Linked DNA regions of Homo sapiens: region 1 is linked to region 2. The links are contacts of gene promoters, found by promoter capture Hi-C in blood cells and fetal thymus (Javierre and others, 2016). All regions are on one chromosome and are shown on one strand. Each heading gives the region's core, a stretch centred on a gene start or on the middle of the fragment in contact. The rest is flanking DNA. Distances are from core to core; before and after follow the strand shown.

Evidence for each region. The method cuts DNA at HindIII sites, captures the fragments that hold promoters and counts their contacts. A CHiCAGO score of 5 or more calls a contact.
Region 1: the fragment with the promoter of TPPP3 here is called in contact with the fragment with the promoter of TMEM208 in region 2 in 1 of 17 cell types (endothelial precursors); the score reaches 5.7 in endothelial precursors.

The regions. Positions count from the first base shown.
Region 1 is chr16:67,392,219-67,396,631 of GRCh38, reverse strand. It overlaps TPPP3 (tubulin polymerization promoting protein family member 3), which reads left to right and starts at 3,134. Exons shown (of 4, transcript NM_015964.4): 1 at 3,134-3,252. ZDHHC1 (zDHHC palmitoyltransferase 1) reads left to right here. Exons shown (of 12, transcript NM_001323627.2): 9 at 1,066-1,148; 10 at 1,352-1,445; 11 at 1,570-1,630; 12 at 1,739-2,480. The coding sequence ends at 2,022. The HindIII fragment of the contact is 5,780 bases long and covers 1,281-4,413 here.
Region 2 is chr16:67,224,143-67,229,282 of GRCh38, reverse strand. TMEM208 (transmembrane protein 208) reads right to left here and starts at 2,153. Exons shown (of 6, transcript NM_014187.4): 1 at 2,059-2,153; 2 at 1,352-1,447; 3 at 869-928; 4 at 652-788; 5 at 402-486; 6 at 5-307. The coding sequence starts at 2,064. The coding sequence ends at 170. It also overlaps the pseudogene FBXL9P. RefSeq lists an enhancer at 2,001-2,350. The HindIII fragment of the contact is 11,037 bases long and covers 1-3,692 here.

The sequences.
Region 1 (4,413 bases), core at 1,885-4,384, 170 kb before region 2:
CGGGGCCGCTGGCTGGGCTCCTCCCCCAGATCTGTCAGGGCCCTGCAGGCAGCCACCCACCCCCACCCCAGCAGGAATGCGGGAGGGGCCCCTCTCTGGAGCCGTTGCCCCCAAACATAGGCTTGTTTTAGAGACGGCCTTGCTGTTACAGTGTCCTCTCTGCATTAGTCAGGACGCCTCCGTCTCCATGGAAACGGCTGCTGAACTGGCGACAGCTGTCCGGGTGCTCCCGGCAACCCCTCCCGGCTCCCACCCCGCCCGGGACCCGCCCCCATCTCGCACCACGCCCTTCCCGGGCCTGCTTTCCCCAGGCTTTTGTTTCCTCACCTGGAGTCCTTCTGGGCAAAGCTGGGGCGAGTCCTGCGGGCGGGGGTGCAGGACTAGGCCACTCCTGCAACCCCCTGGCCTCAAGGCCCCTTTGCTCTCAGGGGTCGCGTCTGCACCCTCAGGGTTGCTGTGAAGATCAGGGCTTGCCCATAAGCCTGGTGCTCAGTGGGGCTGCGGCTCTGTTTGTTCCACCACCTGCTACCTTCCCTTTTGGTGTAGTGGCAGGGAGACCACCGCATGTGCATTTACGCAGCCCCTTCTCGGCAGCCTGGATCGTGGCTGGTCCTCTGTGAGGGCGAGGGGTGTGCCCAGGACTCAGCTCTGCGGGAGCTGGTGGATGCACACTCAGGCCTGTTTCTCAGCCAGGGGAAAACAATTGGTTCAGAGGCTGGATCCCTGGGGACACCAGGAGCAGGTGCGGGCAGCTCTGAGCTTCCCACCACTCCCTGGCTGAGCCTCTCTAAACTGGGCCTATAGACCCATGGGGGCTGGGAGCCTTCCTGCAGGAGGCAGAGGCTGAATAGATGAGGTAAGGACCTGGGGATGGGGCAAGGGCCAGAAATGGGTGTTTTAAGCCTTACCCTACAGATGGGGTTTTCCCAGCATGGCTGGGAGCCTGGCATGAGGCCTGAGATATCCCACAGAGGCCAATGAGGGCAGGACTGCGTGGGCTTAGGGCTCAGCAGGCTCGGGAGCCACACCTGGCCTCCCAGCCTCCTTGACTTCCACCTTCCCCAGGAGATGGAGTTCTACATGCGGACCTTCAGACATATGCGCCCAGAGCCCCCTGGCCAGGCCGGGCCAGCAGCAGTGAATGCCAAGTGAGTGCAACCTGGGCATGTGCCACTGGGCATCTCCAGTTAGCATGGCAGGGCCATCGAGGCAGGAGAAGGGGGTAGGCTAAGGTCGGGGCATGGGTCAGGCCCTTCTCTGAGCTAACAGGAAGGGAAGCTTCTCTCAGCACCTCCAGTGGGGAGGGATTTGGGGAACAGGCCCCAGGCTTACCCTCCTGCTTCCCCCTCAGTCCCTCCCAGTTTCTTGCCACCCGTGGCCAAGCGGAACCTCCACCACCCTCTTCCCCAGACACTCTCGCCCTGCCTCCCCGGATCCGACCCCAGGTAGGAGGGACTGTGCTGGGCCTCCGGTCCAGGTGGAGTGGGATAGAAAGAAGCCTCTACCCTGGCGCTCGCCTCTGCTTCTTTTGGCGATGTGGGGCCCTCAGGCTCCCCCGTGTCTCTGCAGAAAAAGAGGAAGAGGCGCGTGTATAAAGTGCGAACGTCTGAGACCTCGGATCCGGCGTCGGGTGAGCGCCTCTCCCTGTCCGGGTCCTGCTCTGGGAACTCGAGGGAGGGGAAGGCAGAGCCACAAGCGAGCCGCAGCCACTGGGCTCATGTTCCCTTCCCTTGCGCAGGGCCTAGGGCCCCCAGCCGCCGCTCCAGCTCGTCGACGGATTCCGCGGACGCCAGCCCTGTGCACGCCGCTGGCCCTGCCGGCGCCTACCACTCGGCGTCGGCAGAGTCCGTGGACGAGATTCCAGTGGCGCAGACGCGCCTGGGCAGCGCCGCTCTGGCCGCCCCGCGGGGCCGGGGCCGACAGCCCACGCTGGCGCGGCAGGCGCGTGCGCCCGCCGTTTTCGTGAGCCCGAGCAGCGGCGAGCCCAGGGCGCCGGGCGGCCGGGAGGCTGGTCTGGCTTAGCTGGGCCGAGAGGCCGGAGGGCCGAGTTAGAGCGGCCGGCCTGACTCTCTATGCAACACCCCATCCTTGCCGCACCGAGTGCACTTTAGGGGCCCCTACGGCCGGCGGGATCGGCCTCCCTCCCCCACGACTCAGCAATACCCGCCCCACCGGCTGTGATGCTCCAATAAACTTTTTTATGCTTTTGCGGACGTCGCGCTTACTTTCTTAATGGCAGGGGCCACGGGCCATCCAGAAGCCCGACCCTGGCCAGTGGACCGGGGGCGGGGAGGAGGTCCCTGTATAGTAGGTAGCCACCCAGGCTGCCCTGTGGAGGTGCTCACGTGCGGCTCGTGGTTAGGAAAGGCCTTAGAAGGCGGCCTGGAGGAGGTTATTTTTCTTAAAGATGGGCTTTGCACTGGGAGGCCGAGAGAAAGCAGGCTTTGGGCTCCGAAAGCAGCAGTGGGCGCTGAGGCTGCGAGGCCGTGGGGAGGTGGCGGCGAAAGGAGGGGGCCGAGCCAGGAGGTCCCGCAGCTTTTCCCCGGCAGCAGGGCTGCCGTCGAATGCCAGCATCCTGGGGCTGGGCGAGCGCGATTCGCTCGTAGGGAGTCCCCTCCCTTCTTCCCCACTGCTCCAGGCTCTGAATCCTACCCAAGAGAGCACGGGAGTTGTGGCCTGGGGGTGCCATCCGTTCAGTGGATGGCAGTGCTCTTGAGTCAACCGTATACCCCTGTCACTGAGGGAGAGCTCCTTCCCGATTCCCCAAGCCCCACCAATGCCCCGCGCAGCTCCCCAGTGGCCTCTGGTTGACTCTCTGGGGAGCTGGATCTCTTCTGGAGATTGGGGCCGCTTAGAGCTTTAGGCACATCCCAGGATGGGAGGCTGTTTCCTCAGGGGGCCGTCCGAAGACGCCCCGAACTGCAGAGCGCTGGTCTCGCCGTCGCGAGGACCGCGGAGTTGCGGGGGAGGGGCGGGATGCGGCTCCCGGAGAGTCTCGGGGAGGGCGGGGCCTCGTGGGCGGGGCCGGCGTGACCTTGGTCACTCTCCCGCCGAGACAGCCTCGGGGGTGGGACTCGCCGTCTCTATGGAGACCGAGAAACAGGGGATAATACGGCGGAGCCGCCTGGGCTGCAGTCCCACCCGGGAGCCGGCAGGGAGCGGAGCTGCGGAGCCGCCTGGTCTCCCGCGTCCATCGGTCCATTCCTGCGTCGTTCTGTCCTTCCGAACGCACACTTCAGGAGCAGCCGCGAGGTAGAAGCCCATAGGAGACCCAGATGCCCGCCACCCCAATCAGTATCCTGCACGATGAGGGTTGGGGGGAGCAGCCTGGAAAGGGTCCCAACCTCCGGCGGTCCCAGCCGAGGAGCCAGCTGAGCGGCCCTGCCCTGGCCCCAAGCATTCCACCTCGCAGCCCCCACCTCCTGGTCCGGCTGATTGATGACTCCAGCTGTCCCAGTGGGAGCGGGACGGGTGGCTCCAGTTCACGGGTGTGGCCACTCCATCCATGGCCTGCAGACCCATGGGGCTGCGGCCTGCAACCCAGCGCCACCTGACCGCGCTGAGATGACCAAGAATCCATCTTTCCACGGACAGGAGTGAGCACTGCACGCAGGATCCGCCCAGTGCTTGGGCCAAGCACCCTGTGGCATCCAAGCTCCCCTGGACGTTACCCTTGGTGAACCAAGTGCGGGTCTTGGGGTCCCTGGTGGGAGGTTGCACCCAGGGAAAGGGAAGGGGAGTGCAGCGTGGACTGGGGTTATGGTCCCTGTAACGTAGGAACCACCGGTGCTCACAGTCCCAGAAACTGCCACTTAGGGATGGGAGTGTGGTCACTGGCGAGGAGTTTTTGGTGGAAGATGGGGCAGCCGGGCAGAGCCCAGGCCGTGGTCACTGGAAGCCCTAGTGTAAAAGGCAGAGCTAGAAGATGGTTGCTGAGACCGAGGGTGTGGTCAGGAGGTGGCAGTGGAGGAGGGGGATGTGGTGGGGAGGTCTCTACGCAGGGGATCTCCGCATAGTACCTGGGAGTCTTATAATGTTAGTGTGTGGATGTGGACTGGGGCCTTCAGTGCAGGCTGAGGGTGTGGCCAGAGGGCTGAGGGTGTGTGGACAAAGGGGTGCTGAGGGTCAGGGCGCCTTGATAAAGGGCTGCGGGTATTGGAGGGGGTGAGTGGCTGAGGCTATGGTCAGGGGTCTCAGGAAGGGATGCAGGTTTGTGGCCAGGGGCCTCAGCCCCAGGGCTGCGGGTGTGGGGATGGAGAAGGCTGCTGTGTAGGCTCAGGGTGTGGCCAGGGGTCTGCAGCGGAGGGCTGTGGGTGTGGGGGGCACTTTAGTGCTGGACTGTGGGTATTACTGGGGTTGGCGCAGGCTTGTTAGTATATATGTGGGGGCTGGTGGCCGAGGGCTGTGGCTGTG
Region 2 (5,140 bases), core at 904-3,403:
CAGCCACATTCTAAGCCATTTATTCAACGACCCTATAGAGTATAAGTATACCCAATACCTCAGACTGCTTTTGGCCCCTGGACTAGACCCTCATTGCTCCAGGCATGAGGGGCTGTGCACCCTGACAGAGCCACCCAGGGCCAGTGGCCTGTGGCCACAATGTCAATGGCTATAACCGCTTCATCTGCCGCCGCTCCTGTCGGCGCTGCCGTTTCTCATTGTGCTCTGGTGCTGGGGTGCCACTGTCTGCAGTGAACCAGGGGCCCAGCACATTCACCCACAGGAGGTAAAGGGCCCGGCCTGGAGCCTACAAGAGAAACGGTAACTTGAAGCAAGATGCAGGGAATAAAAGATGGGGAGGGTTAGATGCCCCTTCTTGGGAGCGCCCCCAGCCCACATACCAGAAGCCAGAAGGACCAGACATAGAGAGAGAAGCAGCTGAGCACCTGCACGATGGCTGTCAGTAGGATCACATCCTTAAGGTGCCTGTGGATAGAAATAAAGCTGGAAAGACAGCATATGGGCCCTTCCACCCTTTTCAAGTTGCAACTCCCTTCCACCCTTTTCAAGTTACAAGTAGCTGTGCTTCTTGGGCTATCTGGGCCCCAGCCCTGGGGCCGCTCACCTGGGCTGGCGGTGGGGGACACTCACTCTGCCATGCCCTGCTCCATGTTGAGGTCCATGCCACCATCCATCAGGGCCCCATCCTCAGAGAACGCTGCTCGTGCCATCGAGCTCATAGAGTGGTAGCTGGCCCCATACACTGCCAGACTAAAGCCCAGGGCCAACTGCAGAGCAAGAATGAGGGTATCAAAGGCCAGCCACTGACCCTACGCACTCATCCACCTCCCAGGATGGAGATACTTACCCAGGCCCAAAATGAGGCAGATGAGTAAAAGAAGACCAACGTCACAAGGCAGTAAATGGCCTGCAAGCAATCACAGGATCAGGTTGGGGTCAGAAGTTACCTCCAAACCATGGGTCTCCCTCAACTCTGACCAAGAATTAGGCCAGGCTGTGGGAGGAGCAAGGTTGTTCTTACAGGGTTGAAGAAAGGGCCCTGCTCCCTGAATCCCAAATACCCACTCTCCTCTGACACCCAACTCAGCCCAGGAAAGAAGCCTTTGTGTACTTGGAGGTAGGAAGAGCTCTCAAATTCAGCTACGACTCACGCCTTCATTTTCTTTGTGTTTTACTAGTTAGCACTTTCTCTGTGCCCAGATCTCTCATTTCTTTTTGACTGGAGCTCTCTTCTAGAGCTTTTTCGGGTACCACTCCTCGTCACCAAGCAGGGCTGAGGACTAGGGAACTGACTATAAGTGGGCATAGAAGCAAGGAGGTAGGCACTTACATTGGCCCCCAGTATGATCCGCAGGTAGAACTTCAGAGTCTCTCTGTTCTCTTCAAATATCTGCTTCTTCCCTCTCGTGCCCACTTTGCCCTTGGGCTGCAGAGGAATGATGAGATGCCGTCAGGAGGCCACGGTCCTCCTCATTCTCCCCACCAGCCTGGTGAGCTATAGAGCTCCATCCGCAACTCAGCCAGGTCCCCGTAGTGCAGAAACCTAGCAAAATCCCTGGGATGTCCACCCATCCTCCAGTCCATTCTGCCTAGGGCTGACGCCATCTCTCCAGCACCCGCAGCTAGGATCAATCGCCTCTTGCTCGCCCTGGAACAATTCAATCCTAAGCTAATACCGCCTCTGGATCCCGTGGTAGTCTGGCTTTAGGCTAACGACTCTTCCAAGGGTACTCCTGAGCGGAGTTGAATGGTGCCTCTCTCAGGCCTCCGCTGGCGTAGTCCCGATCTGGGTTAACCCCCACCTCAGGTCACTTAGATCTCTGGCCTGCCCTGGTACTGATGCCCACCCCGCTCTGGCACTAGTCCTGGTATGGTCCTGCGCCGCCATCCCCCCAGCCCAGCTCTAGCACGGTCTGGCCAGGGATGGCGCCCCGCTCTGGCCCACCCCATATCCCTTAATGTTCTTTCTCAGTTTTCACTCTCACAGCCCCTGGAGAGCTTTGCTGGTGCGGACCCCGCCCTATCCATCCTCCTTACCGCCATGGTGCGAGGCAAATACCCAGCCCGGGAAACACGGGAGAGCGACCGAAACCGCAATCACTAAGCACCACATCGGCAGCTCATGCACTTCCGGCGCAGACCGAAGTCGTCAGCTTTTGCGACGGAAATAGGTCTCACTTCCTTCCCAAGCCCCGCCCCAAAGAGGCGAGACTACATTTCCCAGAAAGCCTTGCGCAGTGGGGGCGGAGGCGGCAGGGATGCGATGGCGGAGTCGCTGCCCCTGGAGGTGAGAGGAAGCCGCCCTCAGGCCTAGCTCTGGACAGGCCCCGCCCTCGCGGTCCTGAGCTTTGGGGAGGGGCTGTCAGATAGCTAGCCCGGCCCCTCCAGCCTGGCGGAAACGACCCGCCCTCCCGATCCCGGGACCTTCTAGCTCTGGGTAACGGTTCCTCCTTTGGGCCACTCTGTCCCTTTAGCTTGGGGGACCGTCCTCCCCTTCCCTATCGGCCCCAGAAGATAGCTGCCCTGTCATCTCCGCGAGAACAGGCCCTCTGCCCATCCCCTTCCCTTGAAGTGGCTGTCTCCTCCCCGCTCAGTTCTGGAAGATGTCCGCTCCATCTCATCGTCCCGAAGGGTAACTGATCTTATCCCCATTGGTCCCTTGGGATGATCTCTCCATTTCCTACAGAGACGGCCGCCCCTTCTCCCTGGCAGTGGGAAACAGACTGCTCCCTCCCCATCAACTGCAATGATCTCTGAGTTCCTTTAACAAGGATAGGCCTGTTCCCCATTCCTAGGCCCCTAGTGATGGCCGCCCTTACCTCTTTCACTCCGTGGGATGTTTGCTCCTTCCCCTTAGCCAGGGGCAAGACCACTCTGCCCCATCTGCCAGGGAGATAACAGGTTTTGTCTTCAGTGGCCTGTTGGAATGGCTTCTCCATCTCTTTTGTCCTGAGGGTTGGCAGCCCCCTCTCTCTGCCCATGGGAAACAGGCCACCCTTTCCCATCGGTCCTGGAATGATGCTCCTGTCCTTAGCAAAAATAGGCCTGTTCCCACCCCTATTGAGCTTGCAGTGCTATCCCTTTCCCCCTTAGCTTTAGGGGCTATCTATTTCCATCCCCATAGACCCCATGAGTGACCAATCATTATCTCCAGTAGCCCCCTTGAGATGGGACTCATGGGATGGTCACTCCATCCTCATCACTGCCTCCTCTTGTCCCTCTAGAAAGGCCACCCTCTTCTTAGGTCAATGAATTGTGTCCCTTCCCGACTCACCCCAAGGGATGACAGGTTTGTTCCCCTCTCCCTTTGCTCTTGGGCTGGCTGCTTAGCCCCAGAAGACAGGATGGCCACTGTCTTAACTCAGCTCAAACAGGCTTCCGTGCCTCCCTGGAGGGATTGGGACTTGGTCAGTCCCAGTCCCCATCAATACTGTCTTCCCTATGCCTCCCTTCCTGGCCCAGAAGTCTATTCTGCCAGTCATTGTCCTCTCAGTAATGACTGCTTTATTTCCCCGACCCCTTCCCTGAGCATACTCTTGGTGAAAATAGAGGTAGAGGACTGGACTGTCCAACCTTAATTTAATCCAGTAAGCACTGGCTGAGCACTGTGCCTGCGTGCTTGGCATCTGAGAAAGGAAGGAGAGATCACAATGGGTTGGTGAAGTTAAGCTTCAAGAAGGGGATCCCAGGGAAAAGGCCCGCATAGGCAAAAGGAAATAGACATGCTGTGTGCGTAGGGCAATGGGGAGACTGGACTGGGGAAGTTTGGGGACCAGCGAGTCCAATCAGGCACAGAGGCCTGGCAGTGCTGATCCAGGAGTGGAGACTGTCCTGAGAGTACTGTGAACCCTGAAGTTTTACAGCAGGGGTGAGCTGAAACTGAAAACTGTTTTATAGGAAAAATTAACCTTGTGACAGTGTGCATAATGTATTAGCAAGGATGAACTTGGAGGCAAAGAGTTCAGGTGGGAGATTGTGGAAGGAATCCAGGTTTGGGGTGGTAGAAATCTGAGCTACTGAGGTGGGGAAGTTGCAGAGGTAGAAATTTTAGTAACAGCAATCCAGCAACCATTTATGGAACATCTAGTTGTCACACACACACTATATATATGTAAAATTTAATCCCCATGAGGCTATGATCTAGATTTTTTTAAAGTATCCCTATTTTATAGATATGGAAACTGAAACTCCCAGAGGTCAAGTACCTTGTTTAAGGTCACACATCAGTATATGTGGAAGTAGTGGAGCTGGAATTTGAATGAGTTTAGGTTAGCCTGGCCTAAAGCCTGTGCATTACACCTGTATCTGGGAGGAAGGGACAGAATGGTTTGAATAGTTGAAAGTGTTATCAGGTAGATGCACTGTTGGCATTGAAAGGGGAATTTGGGAGGAGAGGCTGTTTTGGGCTGAGGGTAGAACATGAGTTTTGGTTGAGATTAAAGTGATGGCTAAACATTTGCATGGACAGTTGGCAATATGGACTAGCACTTGGATAATAGGACAATATGGGAATATTGAATTGTTGGTTATTCCTGTGTTGGTAAACAGAAAACCAAAAGACCCAGGTCTGAGCCCTGGGAGCCACAGAAGAATCCAAAAACGAGACAATTGGGATGCAGGGAGGAAGATTCCAGAAGAAAAGAAGAGTTAATATCAAATCATTCTAGGCCTCACTGGTAACCCCTTCCCCAGTCCCATTTAGGACCTCTAACCTCACCACCCCCTAGGTGGGGGGAAGGGCCTGAGCCTCCCAGGCTAGGTCTTGCTGGGAGCGCATCTTAACAACCAGTGGAGAGGGCAAGGTGGCAGTGAAGAAGACAGAAAAACAGCAGGGTCCCAGAGCCTGAGCCATGAGGGCAGGAGGACCAAGCATGACTTCCTGAGGACCAGAGTGAGCACACCTGGCCTGCTGTGCTCTAGGTCCTATGCAAGACACTTGGCTGTGTTCTTTAATTCTCACAATAATCCATTTAAATCTCACTACAATTGCAATTTCACAGATAAGGAAAACAAAGTTCGAGAGGTCAGTTGGCAGAGTAGAGATTTGAACTAGGTTTATCTGGCCTCAATGCCCAGGCTTTTTCTACCCAGCTAGGCAGGAAGTTTGATTCTTATCAGT